Regions from separate parts of the Homo sapiens genome. Here all the other regions are linked to region 1. The links are contacts of gene promoters, found by promoter capture Hi-C in human tissues and cell types (Jung and others, 2019). All regions are on one chromosome and are shown on one strand. The core of a region is centred on a gene start or on the middle of the fragment in contact, and the rest is flanking DNA. Distances in the headings are between cores, read along the strand shown.

Region 1 (4,826 bases), core at 616-3,115:
GCTCCACGGGACAACCCTCCCTCCATGGGAAGGGGTGGCAAGGCAAGCCTAGGACTCTGGACCCTCTCCTCAACCTGACCCAGCTTCCAGCCACAGGCACCCTCACCTCCTGGCAGCAAAGGGGAGCAGGTCCACATGGACCACTCCACCACGGCGTTCACCCTTCCTCCTCTCCACCGCTGTGGAGATCTTCTCCCATCAAGAGTCAGAGTACCACGATTCTAGACCTTGCTGAAGGTGACTAGGTGACCTCAGGCAGTTCATTTAGCCTCTCCGAGCCTCAGTTTCCTCACCTGTGCAATGGAGGCTTCAGCGCCTGCCCTGAAATATTGCTGTGAAGGGGGAAATTGCTCGTGCCACCTGAGGATTAATCATTACCCTGGAACCCTTCCCAAGGCCATCAAGGAACACGCACCCCTTACCAGACCTTCCAGCTGCTGGGGGCTCTCAGAGTGAGGCTGAGGTCATGGAGAAGGGAATGGGGGGCCCCCATGGCCAGCTGGACCTGATCACTGCCTCCCCACTCAGCCACAGCCCTCAGGGCCCTGTGCCAGTCCAGAAGCCCATTCAGGGACACCTTTGGCCAATGTTCTGTTTCATCTGCGAGGCAACCTTCCCCAGTGCCCCAACCATAGCGTTTTCCCCCAAACACCCTCAGGAAGGAGGGACCACTACCTGTGCAGGGGGGGCCAGGAGCCTCCTGAGAGCCTCATATGGGGAGGAAGTGGTACCATCTCACCCCCATTGCCTTTCTCTCCTACTTCCACCTGGCCAGCTTCCCTCAGTGCCCCTCCTGCCTCAGTGCCCCTTCCCTCAGTGTCCTTCCTGCCTGCCGCCCCAGGGGCCTGACCTCTGACTTGGCAGGGAGGGGAATGGAGCCCGGGGACAGAGGCCAATGAGCCCTGAGAACAGTGGATGTTCTTCCTGACCCCACCACCGGGCCTGTGCTATGACCCCAACAAGGACTCCGAGGGCATGCACAGGCTGGGGTCTGTTATGGTAGGGAGGGGGCCGCTCACCTCCGGAGACTGTGTGTGTGTGCAGGTGTGCGTACACAAGGTTTCTTCCCCAAGCCCAGGCGCCCCGCAGCTGGCACCAAACCCTGCAGGGCACGGAAACCGCCCCGTGAATTCCCACCGAGTCCTCAGATCCTGCCGAGCCAGGGGAGGCGACGAGGGGGCGCCCAACTTCGTGACGCGTGTGCCCCGCTCTGCCGCGGGGGTCAGGGACAGGGGAATGCGTCCTGTCTCTGGGGATGCAAGGACATCACCGCCCTCCCCGCTCAGGGTCCTTGATCTGAGGCCCCCACTTCCCTCCTCTGAGGACAGGAGCGCCACCCTCTGGGGGGCGCTAGGGCTTGGGCCCCTCCCCAGGGATGGAGGAAACGCGCCCACTTCCCACAGTCCCTCCTCTAAACCCCAGGCGCCCCCACCTCGAGGTGGGCGGAAAACTGGACTCCCCACCCACCCAGGGGGGTGGGACCAAAGCCCCCTGGCCGCGGCCTGGACCAAGTCCAACAGGCTGGGGGTTCAGCCGGCTCAGTCCAGGCCTCCCCCCACTTCTCCAGCTGCTGTCAAGACCGGGCTGCGCGAGCCCAGCTGCGCCCACCCCTCGCCCCTGGAGACCCGGGTCCCCCACGCGTTCGCCCCCACCCTCCGTCCCCGCCCGCCCGCGCGGGGTCTTCGCTGCGAGCCGACGGGAGTCTGGACACCTCTGTCCCCTTCCCCTTTCCAGGGCCGCAGCCCTGGCGGGGCGCACTCACCCAAGGGCCTGGGCCGGGGGCGTCCTGGGCTCGGCACTCTGGTGCCCGCGGCCGCCGCTGCAGCTCTGCTCAGATGCGGCCGGCGCTCGCCGCCGCCGCAGTTCGGGGAGGGGGACGTCACATGACCGCGGAGCGCTCCTTCCCCGGCGCCGCTCCCCACTCACTGCGGAGCCCAAGCCGCGGGCGCGGGAGCGGCGGGGAGGCCCCCGCCCTGCCGCCCCGCCCCGCCGCAGGTCCTGGAGGAGGGTTCTCGGTGCCCCCATTTTACAGGTGGGGAAACTGAGGACCAGAGAGGGGCAGGGACTGGCTCAAGGTTACACAGCTAGACAGTGGCAGAACCTGGGCGACAGCCCAGCTGTCCAGGCAACAGCTCATGCTCCAAGGGGACTGGGACAACTTCTGGATCAAGTGGAGACGTCGGGATAGGTGGGGCCCACGGCCCCCATGGGCTCCGCTTGTCTGCAGGCGCGGGAGGAAGGCGCACAGGCTTCGCTGGGCGAGAAAGCTGCTGTGCCCTGGCTGACGCCCTCCTCACCCGGGCGCTCGGCGCGCTTCCTGGCAGAGGCCACGCGGTTGACCCTCGCCAGCCCATTCGCGGCTCTTGGACTTTGTCTCTGGACTGGGCAGCTCGCCCCCGCCCCAGCCTAACCCGGGCCCAGGGCGGGTGTGGGGAGGGGAGCCACAGGCTACGGAGAAGTGGAAGGGAGGCACCCGGAAGAGAGTGGGATCAGAACAAGAGTGAAAACCCAGGCAGGGAGGGGGCGGCAGAGATCACCTCGGCCTGACTTCCAAGGCCCAGGGAGAGTTAGAGACTTGCCCAAGGTCCACAGCAAGTGAGCGGCCTGCCCACTCGAGTCCCTTCTTTGATGGTCAACAGAGCCTGAGGCTCCTGTGCCCCACTCCCCACCAAGGGGGAGCCCTCACCCACACCTCTTTCTGTTCTCCACTGAGCTCCCTCCCCGGGGAACAGCCCACATGAAGCAAAGAAACACGCAGTGGGTCGGCAAGGCCAGAACTGGGGACAACGGGTGAGGGGTATGGTTGGTGGCTCCAAGGTCATGAACTCGTCACAGAACACTCGTGTTCCAGGGGGATCTCTGAAATCTCTGGATCTCACCCCAATGTTCTAAGAACTGGGAAAACAGGCTGCAAAAGGTACAAAGACAGACCTCTTTCTCAACCATTTCGAATTGGTGGGTCAAGCCGACAGGGCCCTCCAAGGTCAACAAGTCCAATAGGCCCACTTGACAGATAATATTTAGGGAGGGGAAAGTCCAAGACATGTACTCAATATATTTCTTGAGCATCTACTGTGTGCTTAAAACCACAACTGTTACTTCCAGCTCCCACTATTTTCCCGGCCACATGGGCTGCATTTCACAAAAGGAAAGATCCGAGGTCTTCAGCAACTCTTACATCAGCCTCTGGAGGATCTGAGACATGCAAGCCTCCGGGTTTTCAGTCCCATAGGGGCTGGGGACCAGAGCCATGTTTTCCGGTCAAGACTCTAATCCCCGTGGAGAAAAGGTGAATAAGGGGGAATAGCAGGAAATGCCCCACCCTCTTCCCACGCATCCACCCACCTGTGAAAGGGCAGAGGGGAAGGTAGATCAGGCACTTGTTCTTTTCAGTCCTCCCTCCAGCAAGCTTCCCTAGCTGTATATGGGAAAGAGACCCCAGCCCAGGGGGGTTTCTCAAACTTCTAAGAGTGCAGGAGCGGTCTGTAGACTCAGATTCAGATTCAGTGGGCCTGGAGCCTGAGCTCCTGCATTTATAATGAAGCTTCGTGGCTGCAGACATCCTGAGCAGCACTGGTAGTACAAGGCAAGTTGTCAGGGCAGGAGGAAGACTCCTGCGGTATCACATGCTCACTCATGGACCACCCAACCCGGGGGGCCCTTTGATCTCCTGCCTAGGAATACACCAGGACTATATAGTTGGCTCAAACACTGTAATAAAAAGGCAAGAAGTTGAATGAGGCTGGCCGAGGCGCTTCTGGGGATGATGGTGAAGGGACTGTGGGGCATAGCAACTGCCCTAGACAGGTATGTCCTGCAGGGCTCTGGTCCTGGGAGATGCTTGGTCAAATACATCCTACTTAGGAAATGCCAGCAGAATGCCTATAGACCTTCAAGGGCAGCATGTACTGGGTGGGGCTGGCTCATCTTCAGCAGGGGCGGGGCTCACAGATCTCAGAAGTACATGGATTCCAGGATCCTTTTAAGCACCATCTCTCTACCCATCCTCTCGCTTTTTTATGCATTGCTCCCTGAATTCAATTCTGAGCACAATCTTCATGCTTCTTGCTTCCCTAACTCCTGTTCCAAAAGGGCCCCTTTCTCCTCCACGCTTTAAGACAGAGACCCTCAATTCTGGCCAGGCATTGCTGATGGTACATCCCAGAGTGCTGAGTGGAGACAAAGGTGTCCCACCTGAGCTGGAGGGAGGGGGCAGATGGAGGCACTGGAGATGCAGAAATGCAGCAAGCCAAGGGGTACAGCTGTGTGACCTCTTCATGGTCCCATAACCTTCTGGAGTCTGGACCTGCAGACTCCAAGGTCCTTAAGAGCTCAAGAGCCTATTAGCCTGGGGGTACTGAATGTCCCCGACCCTGGCTGAGCAGACCAAAGAACGAAGTCTCTTCTATGCCAGGCGTCTCTATTTCTTCTTTATAATCAAGGAGCTTTTCAATTACAGCATTTTCCCCTTTACAGAAAACCTCCCTCAATGCAAGAGGCTTATAATCTCCCATGTGTCCTGGGGGGCACCATTCTGAGACTGTCAGGGCCCCTGGCGAGGAGGCAGCACGTGCCGTAGGGGGCTGGGCACAGAGCTTGGCATGCAGCCTAGCTACTGAGGGGGAAGATTGGACAAAGGCCCCGGAGCTTTGCTTTCCCTGTCCTATTTCAATCCAAACCACTCAGGACTGACCACTCACGCATGGCTGCCTCTGGGCACAAGCCTTGTCTCAGACACTTAATACATTGCGACCCAGCCACCATCTCTGTGCTCCCTATCACTGAGAAATGAAAGCTGGCTTTAAAAATCTGGCATCCAAAAAGGC
Region 2 (4,826 bases), core at 1,545-4,044, 120 kb before region 1:
ATCATAAACCGAACCGCACCAGCACCCCAGCAGCCCGTTCCCGTTTCCGTACCCTCCACGTGGAGCCTCCGTTCTGTCTCCCAACGCCCTGGGTTAGTTTTTATACTTTCTGTCATCGGAATCACACTGTAAGTGCTCTTGGGTTTAGCTTCCTTTGCTCAAGCTTACCTTGTGCGATTCATTCATGTTGTTGTGAGGAGCTGTGGATCATCCATTCTCCTTGCTGTCTGTGGTGGTTTCTGTGTTGTGAACACACACAATGTATTATCCAGCCTGCCGTAGATGGAGGCAGTTTTGAAGCCATTATAAACAGGGCTGATGTGCACATTCTGCTGGAGAGAAACGGGTCCCAGGGTACAGGTAGGATGATCAGCTTCGGTAGATCCTGCCGGTTTTCCCATGCGCTGTGCCTGTCTGCACTCCACCAACGGCGAGCGGACCTTCCGGTAGTTAAACATCTTCACGAACTCTTGGACTTTCCTGCACACACAGAGAAGATAATTTTGGATGGCTCTTCCCTTCCCCCCACAACCTTCCTTAGGGCACTGGCTTTCAACTGATGTAAATATTTACTATGCCAAGCACTAGGAGGGCAGAGACAAACAAGACAAAGTCCTCACACTTAGAAACTCCCGGTGTGGCAGCTGAGATGGCCCAGGAAAGAACTATATTACCTTCAAAAAGAGAGGTACATGCGATGTTTGAGGTGGCATGAAGCTCAGTGGTGTTATATTGGAATGAGTGAGTGACCATCCTGGAGCCTTCCTGAAAGAGGTGACTTCATTTTTAAGTGATTTTAAATAATAGTTTAATGAATTAGTATTTCGTATTCAGTTAATAACATTTTTCTGATTTTAGGATTTGCTATAGAAATATTTGGAAACCGTAAAGTAGAACAAAAAAAAAAATGTAGGAATCATCTGAAATTCCAAATTCTACCACTCACAGTTAAGTGTTGTTAGATGTTAGATGTGGGATATTGCCTTTTAATTTCCACTCTGCGCCGCTACCCCCAGCCCCTACCCCAGAGCCGTCACTTCTGGCACTGGAGCGCAGCTTGCGTGGTTTTTTTTTTTTTTTTTTTTTTTTTTGAGACAGAGTCTCGCTGTCGCCCAGGCTGGAGTGCAGTGGCGCGATCTCGGCTCACTGCAAGCTCCGCCTCCCGGGTTCACGCCATTCTCCTGCCTCAGCCTCCTGAGTAGCTGGGACTACAGGCGCCCGCTACCTCTCCCGGCTAATTTTTTGTATTTTTAGTAGAGACGGGGTTTCACTGTGTTAGCCAGGATGGTCTCGATCTCCTGACTTCGTGATCCGCCCGCCTCGGCCTCCCAAAGTGCTGGGATTACAGGCGTGAGCCACCGCGCCCGGCCATTTGCGTGTTTTTAAGGTTGAATCAAGATCCTTCTTCTGGTGGTAGTGGTTTCTTTTTCTCCCTTCCCTTCCCTTCCCTTTCCTCCCCTTCCCTTTCCTCCCTCCCCTCCCCTCCCCTCCCTCCTTCCTTTTCTCCTTTTCTTTTTCTCTATTTTTAAATTAAAAAAAAAAATCTTGGATGGGCGCGGCAGCTCACACCTGTAATCCCAGCACTTTGGGAGGCCAAGGTGGGCAGATCACCTGAGGTCGGGAGTTCGAGACCAGCCTGACCAACATGGACCCCATCTCTACTAAAAATACAAAATTGGCCGGGCATGGTGGCGCAAGCCTGTAATCCCAGCCACTCGGGAGGCTGAGGCAGGAAAATTGCTTGAACCCGGGGGGCGGAGGTTGCAGTGAGCCGAGGTTGTGCCATTGCACTCCAGCCTGGGCAACAAGAACAAAACTCCGTCTCAAAAAAAAAAAAAAGAAAAAGAAAAAATCTTTTTCCTTTGAGCTGGAGCTGCAAAGAGAAGAATTTTTAAAAAGAAAAGAAACTTTTAAAAAATTAAAATACAAAAATTTTTCTTAGAGACAGGGTCTCGCTGTGTTGCCCAGGCTGGTCTCCAACTCCAGGCCTGAAGCGAACTTCCTCCAGCCTCAGCTTCCCAAGTAGCTGGGATTACAGGCATGTTACCACCATGCCTGGCTTTTTTTCTTTAAACAACTTTTAAAAAATGTTTTATTTTGTTTTTACTTAACATATAATAATTGGACTAGAGTGGTGTCTTATCTGTCACAACACTTTTCTAACGGTAGAGTGTGTATTACTGCTGTTTCCCACAACAAATGGTGTCATATCTTGGTTTTGGCTGAAGCAATAACATTTCCCAGTGAAACTCTTGCCACTTAAAATTCTTTGTCTTGTAACTCATGTGCAACAGGGTTAGTACATTTCTCAGCTGCCAGTGGGGTTGTTCTTTGTGATTTAACAGGAAGACCACAGTGTAAAAACATTCTTATGCCATTAATACATGCTTGTTTTAGGCTACTTGGAAAATTCAAAAAAATAAAGAGGAAATAATCATTCATAGTCCTACCACCCAGAGAAAACCACAGTTAATGTTTTGGTGTATTTCCTTCCAGTTTTTTTTTCCACCTAAACTCTTCAATTACATCCGACTTTAAATATATATATATTTTTTAAAAATTGTAAAGATAATACTGTATCTCAGCACAAAAGAAAATTTTGGAAATGCAGAAAAGACAATGGAAAAGAAAAATCAGTTGTCTGTGATGTCACCACCCAGAAATGGCCACACTTACCAGCCAGTTTTTTCACATATGTGACTCCTACCATTTTTATATCTCTTACCATAAACGACAAGCTCTAGAAGAGAATGTAGCAAATGTAGGGGTCCTGAAAGAAGGGGTGCACTCTGTTTTGTCCCTGATGTTCCTGGGACACAGGTAATTAAAAGGCTGAAGACCGAGTGCTGTAGAACAGGGCTTCTCAAGGTGTGGTCCGCAAAGCAGCAAAGCAGCAGCTTCTCCTGGGAGCTTATTAGAAATACAATCGGAGCCTCACCAGTGGGCCGGGAATCTGTTGTAACAAGCCCTTGGGGGATTCAGATGCTTGCTCTCCTTACAGTTTGAGAAACACTGCACCAAAAGATTGGACTCTGGGAGGTAGGGGGCTTCAGATGAATTGAAAGTGGAAATTCACTTAGGAAATGGGACGGAACTGCTTTGCAGCATGGAACTCATTGACACTGACACAGCTGTTTGTGTGGTTAAGCTTCCTGAGACAGGGACCAGCTGGGTTTGGCATCCCAATGTTGAGCCCCATGCCTGGTCTGTAATAGGTGCTCACCGAATACTTGTTGAATGAATCAAGGAATGAATAAGTGAGTGAAAAAGGATCTCTAGAGCTGTGCCCCACATGCCTCTTTTTCTCTTTTTTTAATTTCTAGGATTGGAACATCAGTTAACATCTGACCACTGCCAGCCCACCCCCTCCCACCCACGTCGATTGCATCTCTGGGCTCCAGGGATAAAGCAGGTCTTGGGGTGCACCATGATTTCACCATTCTTAGTACTGGCCATTGGCACCTGCCTTACTAACTCCTTAGTGCCAGGTATGCTTGGGGACACAGGTGGAGGCATAAAAAGGTGGTGCAGATGGGGTATGATGAGGGCAGTGTCTATGTTTTAAGGTCCCAGAACCATCCAAAGTATTTAAGAGCTGAAAACAGTGTTCAGAGCAGGAAACCTCAGCCCTGCTACTTGCATGTGTTAGTTGGATAGGTCACTCTTTTCCCATATATATATATATACACACATACACATATATGAAATATATATATACAAGGAAAATATATATATACAAGGAAATATATATTTTCCACATATATATTTTTCCATATATATATTTCATATATATATTTTTCCATATATATATTTCATATATATTATATATATTCTTTCTTAATTTTTTTTTTTTTGAGACAGGGTTTCGCTCTGTTGCCCAAGCTAGAGTGCAGTGGCGCCATCTTGGCTCACTGCAAGCTCTGCCTCCTGGGTTCACGCCATTCTCCTGCCTCAGCCTCCCAAGTAGCTGGGACTACAGGTGCCCGCCACCGCGCCAGGCTAATTTTTTGTATTTTTAGTAGAGATGGGGTTTCACCGTGTTAGCCAGGATGGTCTCGATCTCCTGACCTCATGATCCGCCTGCCTCGGCCTCCCAAAGTGCTGGGATTACAGGCGTGAGCCACCGCGCCTGGCCTGTCTGTCTGTCTGTCTGTCTGTCTGTCTTTCTTTCTTTCTTTCTTTCTTTCTTTCTTTCTTTCTTTCTTTCTTTCTTTCTTTCTCTCTTTCTTTCTTTTTCTTTCTTTCTTTCTTTCTCTTTTCTTTCTTTCTTTCTTTCTTTTCTTTTTCTTTCCTTTCTTTCCTTTCTTTTCTCTCGCATCCGAGTGAAGAGACCACCAAACAGGCTTTGAGTGAGCAACAAGGCTGTTTATTTCACCTGGGTGCAGGCGGGCTAAGTCCAAAAAGAGAGTCAGCCAAGGGAGATATGGGTGGGGCCGTTTTATAAGATAGGGGTAGGTAAAGGAAAAATTACAGTCAAAGGGGGGTTCTCTGGCGGGCAGGAGTGGGGGTCACAAGGTGCTCAGTGGGGGAGCTTTTTGAGCCAGGATGAGCCAGGAGAAGGAATTTCACAAGGTAATGTCGTCAGTTAAGGCAAGGACCGGCCATTTTCACTTCTTTTGTGGTGGAATGTCATCAGTTAAGGTAGGAACAGACCATTTAAATTTCACTTCTTTTGTGATTCTTCAGTTACTTCAGGCCGTCTGGATGTATATGTGCAGGTCACAGGGGATATGATGGCTTAGCTTGGGCTCAGACGCCTGACACTTTCTTTTTGAGACAGAGACAGACTCTCACTCTGTTTGCCCAGGATGGAGTGCAGTGACGTG
Region 3 (4,826 bases), core at 595-3,094, 78 kb after region 1:
AACAATCTAACATTGAAGTCCAAAACTGAAGTTGAAAACAGTTTCCTTGTTCCACAGAGGTACAAATTTTAAAGTACAGTACTGAAGAGTATCATACATTTGAAAGCTTACATATTTATTTAGCACATTCCTCCCCAACTTTCCCAATCATGTCTCTTAAAGGTTTTTACAGCTTGCTTCCATTGTAAGCTGCCTCCAGAAATGTCTCTTAAAGGTTTTTACAGCTTGCTTCCATTGTAAGCTGCCTCTAGAAATTTTTTATTTTTTTGGAAAGAGATAGAGTTTATAAAATAATTTCTACATTAAAAATTTCAGGTTGGGGGCAGTGGCTCACGCCTGTAATCCCAGCACTTAGGGAGGTCAAGGCAGGTGTCCCACTTGAGGCCAGGAGTTTGAGACCAGCTTGGCCAACACGGCAAAACCCTAAAGTGCAAAAATTAGCTGGGCTCCCTTGTAGCCTCCCAGCTACAAGGGAGGCTGAGGTTGCAGTGAGCTGAGATCGTGTCACTGCACTCCAGCCTAGGCAACAGAGCAAGACTCCGTCTCAAAAATACATACATACATACATAATATTTTATAAGTACTACAATCAACCTTAAAGGGAAGTAAAACAGTCCTTTCTCTAGTAAGACTCAACCTGTTTGGTAGGATGAAGACTACCAAAAGAAAAAAGCAGTACTTATTTCTTGTTAAAACAATGATAGCATCCTAGGGCGTATCAGTAGTTGCAGATATGAAAAATGAAAGCATAAATACTGGAATTATGCCACCTAATGTTTCTGGGACAACGTTTTTAAAAAAGTGAATAGAGGCGCTTGGAGACTGTTAGTTTTGAGAAATGATAAATAATAGTATTGAAACTAAGGTGGCAAGTGCGGGTTCAGAAACAGTAAAATACCTTTTTCATTTTTTACAAATTATTTTTATACCCTTAATTCTGTACATATCGATGAACCACCTCATCTTTGCTATATGCTTACTCACACAAAATGGAATTAACATCTTGGCTCTCCTAAAAAAGTCTTTGTTCCCAGACAGAGGTTCCCAGAGAGAGATTAGCAAACAAAAATTGGCAATTGACTGCTATTCTATATTAATCACAAGCCGATCACAAGTTAGAGTCTCTGAGCATTATAATGTTTACTCCTCAGTAAAAATATTACCTTTATGTTCCACATAAGGCTCCATATCCAAAATTTCTGAGAAGCCAATGTAGGTATTCAGCTTTTTCTTATGTCCAGTTTGCCTAACCAAGAGGAAAGCTGATTATATTTACATTTAAAACAATCATAATACAATATATAAGCTCTATTAGCTATTTTAATAAACTCAACAGTAGCTAGCTTTCACTTCACAATCTTCCTCCAAAACATGTACAATTAGAAGTAAACAGAATATTGTTTTATAGCTGGACAAATATGAGGTTAAAAAATGTGAATGCGAAGTGCTGATTCCAAACACAGCTTATTTTCCAGAAGTTTCAACTTAATCACAAAACAGATTATCCTGCTTTACAGAAGACATGCACATGTGCAAACATTGCCTTGATTTTAATTATAAAATGAAAAATACATTCCCATGGCGGGGGTGTAATGAGTACAAAATTTATTCTATTTAAAATAAAGGACAATACAGAAGGTCAGGGTAATTCAATTACTTGCAGTTTTTCTTTCTTTTTTTTTTTCCAAGACAGAGTTTCACTCTTGTTGCCCAGGCCGGAGTACAATGGTGCAATCTCGGCTCACTGCAACCTCCGCCTCCTGGGTTCAAGTGATTCTCCTGCCTCAGCCTCCCCAGTAGCTGGGATTACAGGCGCCTGCCACCACGCCCGGCTAATTTTTGTATTTTTAGTAGAGACGGGGTTTCACCATGTTGGCCCGGCTGATCTCGAACTCCTGACCTCAGGTGATCCACCTGCCTCAGCCTCCCAAAGTGCTGGGATTACAGGCGTGAGCCACCGCACCCGGCCCTTGCAGTTTTTAATACTTTCTTAGAATAAAAAAAGTAAGGATTTTTTACTTTTCTAGTTATCATTTATATATGGTTGGCTTCTTTAAAATTTTTTATGATAAAATCATGAAATATCGACATTTCAAAATGACAGCCTCCATCTATAACTTTCATCCTCAAATCTAGAGTTTCAAATTACAACCATTTTATCATCTCATCTATGGTAAAGTCTGTACATAGTAGACCACAATGAACAACAAACACTAATATTTGCACACATTTACCTGTCAAAGACAAAACGCATTAGCTGCAAGTTCAGAGTGCAAGGAAGGCTAAGAAGTCGAATCTTTCTTGTTGCATTCTGTTTGCTTTGACAGTTCTCGCAAAAATAGCGATTGTCTCCTTCTAATTTTTCTTCCTGATCAAGAATAAGACATATTAATTTTAAAAAGAAGATGGGTTTAAAACAAGTGATAAAACCCTTGATGTAAAGTATAATTTCATTTCAGTTAATAGCTCTCACTTAAGCTACTTAAAAACAGCTACTATAAATAATGGACACACAAAAGTAATGGGAACTGTTCAGCAGTGACATTATCAATTTGAATACACTGATATTTAAAACTGATGTGCCTATTTCCCAAATGTATGATATTAAAAATACTTGTTTTAGGTTCTTTGTCCTGGTAATCCCACTTCTGGGAATTCTAAAGTAAGTTTTAAAAAGAAATGTCACATGTATTTTGATGCAACATTCATTTAAAGACAGCAAAAAGGCTGGGCAACATGGCTCACGCCTGTAATCCCAACACTTTGGGAGGCCGAGGTGGGTGGATCACTTGAGGCCAGGAATTCGAGACCGGCCTGGCTGCCCAGGTGAAACCCCGTCTCTACTAAAAATACAAAAATTAGCCAGGCATGGTGGTACACACCTGTGGTCCCAACTACTCGGGAGGCTGAGACACAAGAATCACTTGAACCCGGGAGGTGGAGCTTGCAGTAAGCTGAGATCACACCTCTGCACTCCAGCCTGGAAACAAAGCGAGACTCTGTCTCAAAAAAATGAAGAAAAAAACAGGAGGGAGGAGGGTAGTGTAAAAACGATATATGGGCACCAGAATACAAAATTATATACATATTTGTTTAAAATTACTGAAACATATTCATGAGACAAAGCTAAAAAGAGACGTGTAGAAAAATCAAACATTTTAGCTGATAGTGGTTTCTTTTTAAAATTTGCCTTTATATTTCTATAAAGCTAATTGCAGCCAATCATAGCTAACCGAAGACTCAAACTCCTGAGCTCAAGCTTTTGTACCATATTGTACTTACCATATTGTAAGTAATGCAATACTGGTACCATCATCTCTTCACTTGGCTTCCAGGATACCACACTCACTGACTTGCCTCCTAATTCACTGGCATTCCTCCAGGGACTCCTGTGCCAGCTGCTCCTACCTCCCTGATCCCTAACATTTGAATGTCCCAGGCCTCAGTCCTTGTCTCTCTCCCACTCCCTTGGGGATTTTATCCAGCCACGACTTCTTCCTGGAACTATACCTCTCAAACGTAACATGCTCAAAGCCAAACTCCTAATTCCTCTCAACCCTGCTCCTCCCAGGTCCTCCCTATCTCAGTTAGAGCAACTCCATTCTTTCAGTTGATCAGGCCAAAAACCTTAGTAATCCTTGACTCCCCTCTTACTCTTACTCTCCACATCCAGTCTGCAAATTAAAAAAAAATTTTTTTTTCATTATTTTATTTTTACAGACAGGGTCTTGCTCTGTCACCAAGGCTGGGGTGCAGTGGTCCAATCATAGCTAACTACAGCCTCAAACTCCTGAGCTCAGGCAATTCTCCAGCCTCAGCCTCCTGAGTAGCTGGGATTATGGCTGTTCAACACCAAGCCTGGTTAATTTTTTTATTTTTTGCAAAGACGGTCTATCACTATGTTGCCTAGGCTGGTTTCAAACTACTGTTCTCAAATGATCCTACTGTCTCAGTCTCATAAAGTGCTGGGATTATAGACATGAGCCACCACATCTGGCTCCGGCCTGCAAATTTTATCTGCTCTTAGAAAATATATCTAAAAGCCAAATGGTGCTTATCACCTCTTCAGTTACCCCGTGGTCCAAGACACCATGCACTCCCATCTGCCCTCAATCCATCTTCAGCCTATTCTCAGCACCCATAGTTATCCCTTAAAACAGACTGTACCACTCCTACGCATATGACCCTGATGCCATCTCAACCTCACACAGAGTAAAAGTCAAACTTCTGACAAAGGTTTACTAGGCCCTCTCTGATATGGCCCTTGTGTCACCTCCACGACTTTATCTTCTATCATTTACTCACTTCGGCCACACTAACCGCCCCCCACCCAGGCTGTTCCTCAATCCACCAGGCAAGACACATTCTCATTTTGGGCTCTGCACTTGCTGTTTCATCTACCCAGAACACTCTTCTCCTTGTTTCTAACGGGGCTCACCCCTTCACCTTCAATCATTTTATTTCAAACTCCACCGACTCCAGCCTACTCCCCAGCACATTGCCCAGCGCCACATTCCCTGCTTTCTTCTTCTCCACAGCCCTTATTGTAGTTGACCCACTATATATTCGCACTTTATTTTACTGTCCCTCCCTTGTGCCTACACCACTACTTTGTAGGCTCCATAAAGGCTAATCCCCAACAGCTGAAACACTGCCTGACACAGTAAGCATTCAATAAATATTCATTGGCCAGGCGCGGTGGTTCACGTGTGTAATCCCAGCACTTTGGGAGGCCAAGGCAGGCGGATCACCTGAGGTTGGGAGTTTGAGACCAGCCTGACCGACATGGTAAAACCCTGTTTCTACTAAAAATACACACACAAAAA

The links. Contacts are between HindIII fragments. The study calls those that stand out against the background at their distance.
Region 2: a fragment that was not itself captured here is called in contact with the fragment with the promoter of RAP1GAP in region 1 in 4 of the 25 tissues and cell types used here (H1 embryonic stem cells, heart right ventricle, liver and 1 more).
Region 3: a fragment that was not itself captured here is called in contact with the fragment with the promoter of RAP1GAP in region 1 in 2 of the 25 tissues and cell types used here (IMR-90 fibroblasts and pancreas).

What each region holds. Positions count from the first base shown.
Region 1 is chr1:21,667,492-21,672,317 of GRCh38, forward strand. RAP1GAP (RAP1 GTPase activating protein) reads right to left here and starts at 1,866. Exons shown (of 25, transcript NM_002885.4): 1 at 1,763-1,866. RefSeq lists a silencer at 1,788-1,937 and an enhancer at 2,586-3,785. The HindIII fragment of the contact is 12,626 bases long and covers 1-4,826 here.
Region 2 is chr1:21,550,655-21,555,480 of GRCh38, forward strand. It overlaps ALPL (alkaline phosphatase, biomineralization associated), which reads left to right. Exons shown (of 12, transcript NM_000478.6): 2 at 3,324-3,488. The coding sequence starts at 3,428. Among named protein-coding and RNA genes, the nearest start is that of LINC02596, 33 kb to the right of the region's middle. The HindIII fragment of the contact is 6,989 bases long and covers 1-4,826 here.
Region 3 is chr1:21,745,904-21,750,729 of GRCh38, forward strand. USP48 (ubiquitin specific peptidase 48) reads right to left here. Exons shown (of 27, transcript NM_032236.8): 7 at 2,235-2,368; 8 at 1,164-1,246. Among named protein-coding and RNA genes, the nearest start is that of USP48, 35 kb to the right of the region's middle. The HindIII fragment of the contact is 4,676 bases long and covers 1-4,182 here.